Regions from separate parts of the Homo sapiens genome. Here all the other regions are linked to region 2. The links are contacts of gene promoters, found by promoter capture Hi-C in blood cells and fetal thymus (Javierre and others, 2016). All regions are on one chromosome and are shown on one strand. The core of a region is centred on a gene start or on the middle of the fragment in contact, and the rest is flanking DNA. Distances in the headings are between cores, read along the strand shown.

Region 1 (2,921 bases), core at 255-2,754, 180 kb before region 2:
AGAGTTTAATTTTTTTTTTTTTTTTGAGTCTTGCTCTGTTACCCAGGCTGGAGTGCAGTGGTGCATTCTCAGCTCACTGCAACCCCACTGTCTCCCAGGTTCAAGCAATCCTCCCGCCTCAGCCTCACAACTAGCTGGGACTACAGGCACATACCACCATGCCTGGCTAATTTTTGTATTTTTAGTAGAGACTGGGTTTCACCATGTTGCCTAGGCTGGGGTTTAAGTTAAATTTTTTTAAAAACTAAAGTGACTGGCACTAAGTGAACTTGAGATTATCCTCAGCTTCAAGTTCCTAAGATAAGGGCTTTCTTAAGCTTTCAGATACATGTATCCTCTAGATGTAGACAATAATGTCCCATTTCTAAGTCTTTTCCTTTGCTTCTCCTTAAGTTGATTGTACTTCCAAATTTGCTGTTATTTTTTTTCCTAATACTGTGATTTATTTGATCTACAGACAGGAACCTTGTCTCTGTTGAAGAGCATCAAGGGAAGATTACATACGCCTTGAAACCGAAGTGTGTTGTTACCGACTTAATGTGCAGTAACTCCTCAGATATCTGTTAAGGCACTTCCCAGATGTGATGCCAGTCTTCTTACCTGTACTGAAAGATGTTTAGCTTAGAAAAAAAAAAAAGTGCAAAATCAGATTTAAAAAAAAAAAAAGTAGCAGCAGTGTGGGGAGGAAGGAAGTACCCTTCTGTGGGGAGGGCATAGAAGTACTCTGTGAGTGCAGAAAGTGGGGTAGAAGGTACAGCTCCCTTCTACTTAGAAGATTGGTGTGTTGACCTCAGGCTGACCGCATGAATTTCTGGGATCCTAAATGGGCACCTCCAAAGTGAAGAAGGACCTCGGTTGGCATGTTTTGTAAAACAACATAGGGGAGCCTGTAGCACCTTTCCTTATGTGAGTCAGAGATTACCGGTCCCAATAGGTTACAGTTGGAGACAGATTTTAGGTCTGGTTGGTGGGAAGGGCAAAAGGGTAGGGTTAAACTAAGGTGCAGTAATCCTTAAAACAGTTAAGTGTCCCCAGACCAATTTAGATGACTCAGGTGTGTTATCAAAACTGAAAAACAAGGCCAGTTATGGTGGCTCATGCCTGTAATTCCAGTACTTTGGAGGCTGAGGTGGGTGGATTGCTTGAGCCCAGGAGTTCAGAGATGAGCCTGGGCAATATGGTGAAACTCCGTCTCCTCTAAAAATACAAAAAAAAAAAAAAAAAAAATTAGCCGGGCATGGTGGCAGGCACCTGTAGTCCCAGCTACTCAGAAGGCTGAGGTGGGAGGATCACCTGAGCCCAGGAGGTTAAGGCTGCGGTAAGCCAAGGTCACGCCACTGCACTCCAGCCTGGGCGACAGATCGAGGCCCTGTCTCAAAAAAACAAAAAGCAAACAAAAAACCTGAAAAACAAAATCATAAAACCCTGACAGTCAGTACCTAGATGGATATGGAGGGGAAAACCTAAAACTTTCATTTTAGAAACGTTTCATTTTGGCTGGGCATGGTGGCTCACGCCTGTAATCCCAGCACTTTGGGAGGCAGAGGCGGGCGGATCATGAGGTCAGGAGATCGAGACCATCCTGGCTAACACAGTGAAACCCCGTCTCTACTAAAAATACAAAAAATTAGCCGGGTGTGGTGGTGGGCACCTGTAGTCCCAGCTACTCAGGAGGCTGAGGCAGGAGAATGGCCTGAACCTGGGAGGCGGAGCTTGCAGTGAGCTGAGATTGTGCCACTGCACTCCAGCCTGGGCGACAGAGTGAGACTCCGTCTCAAAAAAAAAAAAAAAAAGAAATGTTTCATTTTGGTTTTTCACCAACCTTCCTTTGATAGGACAAAGCAGATACTAAGAGGGGGAGGAAAGGCTGTTCTGTGTCTGAACCCAGTTGGGCTAGTCCCCAAGAGGAGCTGAGAGCCATGTACTCTAATGCCTCCCTTTTCTTCCCCCAGCCCTGCCTGATGTGGCTCTGGGAATTCCTGCAGAGAAGAGCAGGGGTGGCCAGGAGATAGTGAGCAGCTCCCAGGTGAGTCAGCCATTTCTCTTATATAGATCACCTTTTCTCTCTCTCTTTTTTTTTTAATAGAAATATAACTCTTGAGGCACAGCTCAGTTTTCTCCTTTTGGGAAAACGATTAAGTCATTTGTCTTTACAGATTATATTTCTTTTTTTTTAAATTTTCTCTTTTTATTATACTTTAAGTTCTGGGGTACATGTGCAGAACATGCAGGTTTGTTACATAGGTACACACGTGCCATGGTGGTTTGCTGCACCCACCAACCCATCGTCTACATTAGGTATTTCTCCTAATGCTCTCCCTCCCCTAGCCCCCAATCCCCCTCAGGTCACCTTTTACTACCCAAGTGGGGCTCCTGCAACCAACTCTCTTGCCGCTCAGAAATTCCAAAAGAATTTTACCCAGCAGGGAGGCCCAGTAACTTTACAATTTAGGCTCCAAAATTTCATCAGCCTGCAAAAGGTTGCCCAAATCTCCTTACCCATATGAGGCCAGTGCCATGGCTGTGGTAATGAGGGATTGCATTAAAATTATTCTTTTCTTTGACCCTGAAATCATCAGATTCTACTGATCTGCTTGTTTGCCTTAAAGATACTGGTTACTTCATTCTGTGTCGGGATCTTGCTCACATGGCATGCAGTACTGTGTAGTGGAGGAAAAAAAACAAAAACCAAAAGCTTCAGAGTCCAACAGCCTTGAGTTGAATTCCCAGCCATACCCTGGACTTGCTGTGTAACTCTGGGCAAGTCTGAGAAGCTTCTGGCTCAGTGCATAATGTCAGCTTGTTTCTTTTCTGTCTCCTCCTGCCCGCTTGATTGCATTTAAAAGCCAAAATAATCACTGTTTCATTTCTTCTGTTGTGTCACTTGCCCTGACTCAGGCATTAGAGAGGCATTTTGTTCT
Region 2 (2,700 bases), core at 8-2,507:
GGAACCACACGGAGTAGGGGAAAGCCATTTCCAAAAGGAGTAGGGATGGGTGCAGCTTCGAAAACAGAAGGGTTGGACTCCTTTGCTCCCACTTTCTAACAATTACAGCCATTTAGCTTCAGGTACTTTCTGGATGCTCTCAGGAAAATAGGAGAAAGAAGGATGGATAAAAAAGTCTGTGGGCACTTCCGGCCGGGCGCGGTGGCTCACGCCTGTAATCCCAGCACTTTGGGAGGCCCAGGCGGGCGAATCACGAGGTCAGGAGATCGAGACCATCCTGGCTAACACGGTGAAACCCCGTCTCTACTAAAAAATACAAAGAAAAAAATTAGCCGGGCGTGGTGTGGGGCGCCTGTAGTCCCAGCTACTCGGGAGGCTGAGGCAGGAGAATGGCATGAACCCGGGAGGCGGAGGTTGCGGTGAGCCGAGATAGCGCCACTGCACTCCAGCCTGGGCGACAGAGCCAGACTCTGTCTCAAAAAAAAAAAAAGTCTGTGGGGACTTCCAATATTTAGACCAGGTTTCGGCAGTGCTTGGCACTAGTTCTTGGAAATTGTTGCATGATTTGATTATTTTTCTGGGTATCAGGACTCAGCCCATTTCCCCCTCTGGTGCTGAGAAATGGAGGCCGAAGGAGTGATCTAGAAGTGTTAATTGAGCCCCTAATCTATGCTAGTTACTGGGGGTGTTGGGGGAGACAGGAGAGAGATCCCACGGGGTTCCGGCCTCCCAGGGACTCAGGTCACTAATGGAGGTGGCTTGGCTTGTCTATGTGCTGGGCCAACAGCCACTGGCGAGGCAAGGCGAGGGTCAGTCACGGCTGGTGCCAGGAAGAGGGCTGGTTCTTTGGCTCCCTGGTCTCCCGCGGTCTAGCCCAAGCTGGCCAGCGGTTGACCTGGCTCCCCTGGCCCCGGCCAGGCCTCGTGGACCCCTCATATGCCACACGGGACATGAGCAGGCCGGCCGGGAGCCGGGTCCCGGGAGCTCCACGAAGGGGCCTGTCCTCCATGACCAGGACACCCGCTGCGCCTTCCTCCCGAGGCCTCCCGGGCCTCTCCAGACGCGGCGCTACTGCAGACACCAGGGCCGCCAAGGGAGCGGACTCGGAGCCGGCCCTGGGGCGGGCACATGGGCCCCGGCGCCCCCCGGCGTCTCCAAGCCGCGCTGCCCGGGTCGGGCCAGGCCAGGGGAGGGACAGCAGCAGGTGACGACGGCCCGGCCACCGGCTATAAATAGGGGCGCGCGTCAGCCGCGGGCGGGAGCGGCGGCGGCGGGCAGGGGCCCGGGGGCCGGGGCCTGGAGGACAGGCGAGGCAGCGGCGAGTGCGGGGCCGGCGGTCGGGGAGGGCGGTGCCATGGGGTCGCGGAGGGCCCCCAGCCGGGGCTGGGGCGCGGGTGGGCGGTCGGGGGCGGGGGGCGACGGTGAGGACGACGGCCCCGTGTGGATCCCCAGCCCAGCCAGCCGGAGCTACCTGCTCAGCGTGCGGCCCGAGACCAGGTAAGTGGCACCAAGGGGCAGGGCGGCGTCGGGCCGGCGATGCCCTGGGATCAGTCCCTGTGAGGGCGGCCTGGCCCCTGGAGGCCTGGGCTGGGCCTGCGCCCTCGAGCCCTCTCAGCCCCAAGGCCCAGGGCCTGGGGACATGGCCGGGCTGGAATGGCTTTCATAGCCCCTTGTGACCCCTCCTGATCCATGCGCCTCAGGCCTCTGGCAATTCGAGGCTCAAGAGAGGACAAAGGCTCCACTTTGGAGTGATTTCATGGGGTCTGAAGGCTTTCCTTATCTCCCCTGCCCCCTACCCTGCTACTCCCTGGCTTGGGATTCCACAGCTAGCGATAAGGAAAGCCAGAGTGGCTGAAATTCCTCCCTGGCAGGAAGGGAGGGGGAGAGCACTGGTGGGGACAGGGAGAGGGTGCTGGGGGGCTGCCCAGAGTAGGAGCTGCTTAGCTCAGGGTGGGGAGGTTCTCCAGGAAGAAATAAACCTTTGTAAATAAGGTTCCTCTACTGGGCCGAGGACTTGGGTCCTCCCCAGGACCTGAGTGGGGGCTGGTGAGATAGGGGGTGGGATGAGGTACTGTCTGGAGATGTTGGGAATTAAGGACTTGCAGCTCTGAGGGAGCCAAGTGCCCTGTCCAGTTTGGGGAAGTGAAATGCCAAGGGAGGTGTGGAACTGATGAGCCCTTCACTGGTCTTCCAAGAGTTCAAGAGGTGTGGAAGCTTTGTTTTAGCAGCTAGGCCACCCACAGATATAAAGACACAAAGACAATAGACAGGCATCCAGGAAATCAAAGGCACACAGGCACACGTGGACAGGCGCATTGCCATGGAGACAGACACTTCCTGCCCCCTGTGGGCAGCTCAGTTTCCCTTCACTTCTGGAGTCTGTTTTCCAAAGGGAAATGTGTTGAGATAGTGGTTGTTTCATAGCCTGAGAACTTGACTTGTGTATTATGCAGAAAACGGCCATTCCTCCAAGAGGCTGTCCAGAGACCTCTTGTTCTCCATTCCTAAAACAGCATAAAAACAGGCATCGAGGACATTCAGGAAAAGTCCTGGGCACTTCCTCGTGAATTGGCTGAGTCCTACTGACCTTGGAGTTGGGAAAGTTCAAATGTAACCGGAACCGGTTTCTGCATAAAACTCGTCAAATGGTGTCACATGTCTGGGGCAGGGCTGAGGACTGATGTTAGTGACTGAGTCAGA
Region 3 (2,936 bases), core at 115-2,614, 240 kb before region 2:
CTAAAAATACAAACATTAGCCAGGTGTGGTGGTGGATACCTGTAATCCCAGCTACTCTGGAGGCTGAGGCAAGAGAATAGCTTGAACCCAAGAGGCAGACATTGCAGTGAGCTGAGACTGCACCACTGCACTCCAGCCTGGATGACAGAGCAAGACTCCATCTCAAAAAAAAAAAAAAAAAAAGATTCAAAAGCGTTAGAAACCAAATAAATGTAATGAAAACAATCAGATTTTCTGCTTAAAGACCAGCGAAGAGGACAAATGGGAGGGGGAAACTGGAGCTCTGCCCCTGTTGGTGGGAGTATAAACTGAACCAATTTTTCTGCAGGATAATTTGAAAATTTATATTAAAAACCCTAAAACTGTTGTACGTTATTTTCCTCCAGAAATTCTACTTCTATGAATTAAATCCAAAAATGCTTGCTCTAATCCACTAAAAATATACATATAAGAAAATTTATTTCTGGGGTGGCAATGATTAAGTTAATATACATCGAGCTATTAAAAATGATGATGCTAAGGATAGATTTACTGCCATAGAAATATGCCTAAAACATAGTGACAAAAGACTATATAATGATTCTACTTTTTAAAATGTGTATATGCATAAAAAAGTATAAAAAGCAACAAGGCAGAATGTTTTGAGTGGCAAAATTAAAGACTTTTCTTCATATTTTGTCTTCCAAATTATTAGAAAAAGAATATGATTTTCTTTATAATCAGGGAGAAGTATTATTTTCATTTATTTCTATTTAAATTTATTTTCTTTTCCTTATTTTTTCTCATCTATGTATCACATATAGTCTAGAAAGCTTGAATCCCTGCCTCTTGAGATAAATCAGCCCATTTCTTTCTCTATAAATTTGCCTTTTTTGGACATTTCAAATCAATGGAATTATACAATATGTGGTCTCGTGTCTGGCTTTTTTACTTAGCTAATGTTTTTGAGGTTGGTCCATGACATATTGTAGCAGGATGAGCTGCAGACAAAACTCCTCAGACACCAGGTTAAAAAAGGAAGGAGCTTTATTCAGCTGGGAGCTTCTGCAGACTTGCATCTCAAAAGCCAAGCTCCCCAAGTAAGCAATGACTGTCCCTTTTAAGGGCTTACAACTCTAAGGGGGTCTGTGTGAGAGGGTCGTGATCAATTGAGGAAGCAGGGGGTATGTGACTGGGGGCTGCATGCACCAGTAATTGGAATGGAACAGAACAGGACAGGGATTTTCACAATGCTTTTCCATACAATGTCTGGAATCTATAGATAACACAAGCAGTTAGGTCAGGGGTTGATTTTTAACTACCAGGCCCCCAATTTTTTTTTTTGAGATGGAGTCTCACTCTGTTGCCCAGGCTGGAATGCAGTGGTGGGATCTCAGCTCACTGCAAGCTCCGCCTTCCAGGTTCATGCCATTCTTTTGCCTCAGCCTTCTGAGTAGCTGGGACTACAGGTGCCTGCCACCACGCCCAGCTAATTTTTTGTATTTTTAGTAGAGTCGGGGTTTCACCGTGTTAGCCAAGGTAGTCTTGATCTCCTGACCTTGTGATCTGCCCACCTCAGCCTCCCGAAGTGCTGGGATTACAGGCATGAGCTACCACACCCGGCTGATATTGAAATTAACGTTTTGCTTTCTTCTTGCATCTATTTTTCACTTCTCTGACATTTTGATGGATAAAGTTTCATTTGGAAGGATTTTTATTTCAAAATAGAAATAGCATATAACATGAGAATGGGAACTCTGAAAGGTTCAACTTTCTAGTCATTAGTTTCCTAAGATTGTCATGAAAGCCACATATAGTCAATCATGATTGGCCTGTATTAAAAGTGAGATAACATCATGTACAACTTAAGCACTGTACTTTCTATCAGATATAGAAAAATAGGTGGTGTGTTTGGAAAAGTATTGGGCTAGGAGTCAGGAAGCTTGACTGTTAGTCCCAACCCTCCTTCTTCAGCTGAGCACCCCTAGGCAATAATTCAGCAGCTATTTCTTAAATACCTAATGAGTTTCAGGCTTTGTAGTTGGGCTGGGAATAAAGATATAGATATTGCTTTCATGATTCTCCAAGGCTCCCCTCCTCACCCCAACTCACAGTGAGCTTTCTTATGCATTGTGTAAATTTGTCTCCTAACAGGTCCCAACTCTCTCTCCAACCTGCTTCCCAGGGAAGTTGTGAGGATCAAATGAGAGAGAATATGTATGAAAGCAAATTCTAAATGATTTTAAAATGCAATAAAATATGACCTATGGAAAATTATTTAAAGATCCTTAGAATTTTAAATAAACAGTACATTAACCTGAGTTCTCTATGGTTTTTATTTTAAATAGATATGAAAGTTTTACAATGAACCACTGATATGGTTGAAAAACTTAGCTTGATTATTCTCCAAGAAAATGATACAGTGGTTTGTCTGGTGAATTTTCTAAAATTGCCAGCCAAATAAAACCAAAACCTCTTTTGAGTTGAGTGACTGGATCAGTCAAAGGAACATTGACTGTGTAATGGAGAAATGTTTTCTGTGTTCACTGACAGCTTGCCGTTGTTTGATTCCAGCTGCAGCATATCATGAGTGATGAGATCTGTGTACAGGTGACTGACCTTTACCTGGCAGAAAATAATAATGGGGCCACCGGAGGCCAGCCGAACACACAGAACTCAAGAAGCCTCCTGGAGTCAACGTATCCACAGAAAGCCAAGCAGCTAATGTCAGATGAGAAATGCTTTAAGGTGAGAGTTGCTCATGTAGTCAAAGACCTTGCTGGTGACAATGTAAGTTGTTAGGATTCTCTGAATCGGAAGTTATAGCCAGGGTACTTTGACCCCGTGATTCTACTCCTGGAACTTTTTAGAGTTCCTAATGAGTTCACCAGAGAAATACAAAGTGGAAGTAACCATCTTCCTGGACAATCTATTTTGTTTCTTTCTTGCCTTAAAAA

What was found. The method cuts DNA at HindIII sites, captures the fragments that hold promoters and counts their contacts. A CHiCAGO score of 5 or more calls a contact.
Region 1: a fragment that was not itself captured here is called in contact with the fragment with the promoter of ALPK3 in region 2 in 7 of 17 cell types (endothelial precursors, M0 macrophages, M2 macrophages and 4 more); the score reaches 12.0 in endothelial precursors.
Region 3: a contact is called between a fragment that was not itself captured here and the fragment with the promoter of ALPK3 in region 2, in 6 of 17 cell types (M2 macrophages, M1 macrophages, non-activated CD4 T cells and 3 more). The highest score is 8.0, in M2 macrophages.

The regions. Positions count from the first base shown.
Region 1 is chr15:84,635,395-84,638,315 of GRCh38, forward strand. It overlaps the pseudogene SCAND2P and the pseudogene EGLN1P1. Among named protein-coding and RNA genes, the nearest start is that of WDR73, 17 kb to the right of the region's middle. The HindIII fragment of the contact is 2,378 bases long and covers 316-2,693 here.
Region 2 is chr15:84,816,099-84,818,798 of GRCh38, forward strand. ALPK3 (alpha kinase 3) reads left to right here and starts at 1,258. Exons shown (of 14, transcript NM_020778.5): 1 at 1,258-1,497. The coding sequence starts at 1,355. RefSeq lists an enhancer at 356-886. The HindIII fragment of the contact is 9,413 bases long and covers 1-2,212 here.
Region 3 is chr15:84,575,395-84,578,330 of GRCh38, forward strand. LINC00933 (long intergenic non-protein coding RNA 933) reads left to right here. Exons shown (of 4, transcript NR_038274.1): 4 at 2,554-2,936. Among named protein-coding and RNA genes, the nearest start is that of LINC00933, 6.2 kb to the left of the region's middle. The HindIII fragment of the contact is 1,109 bases long and covers 811-1,919 here.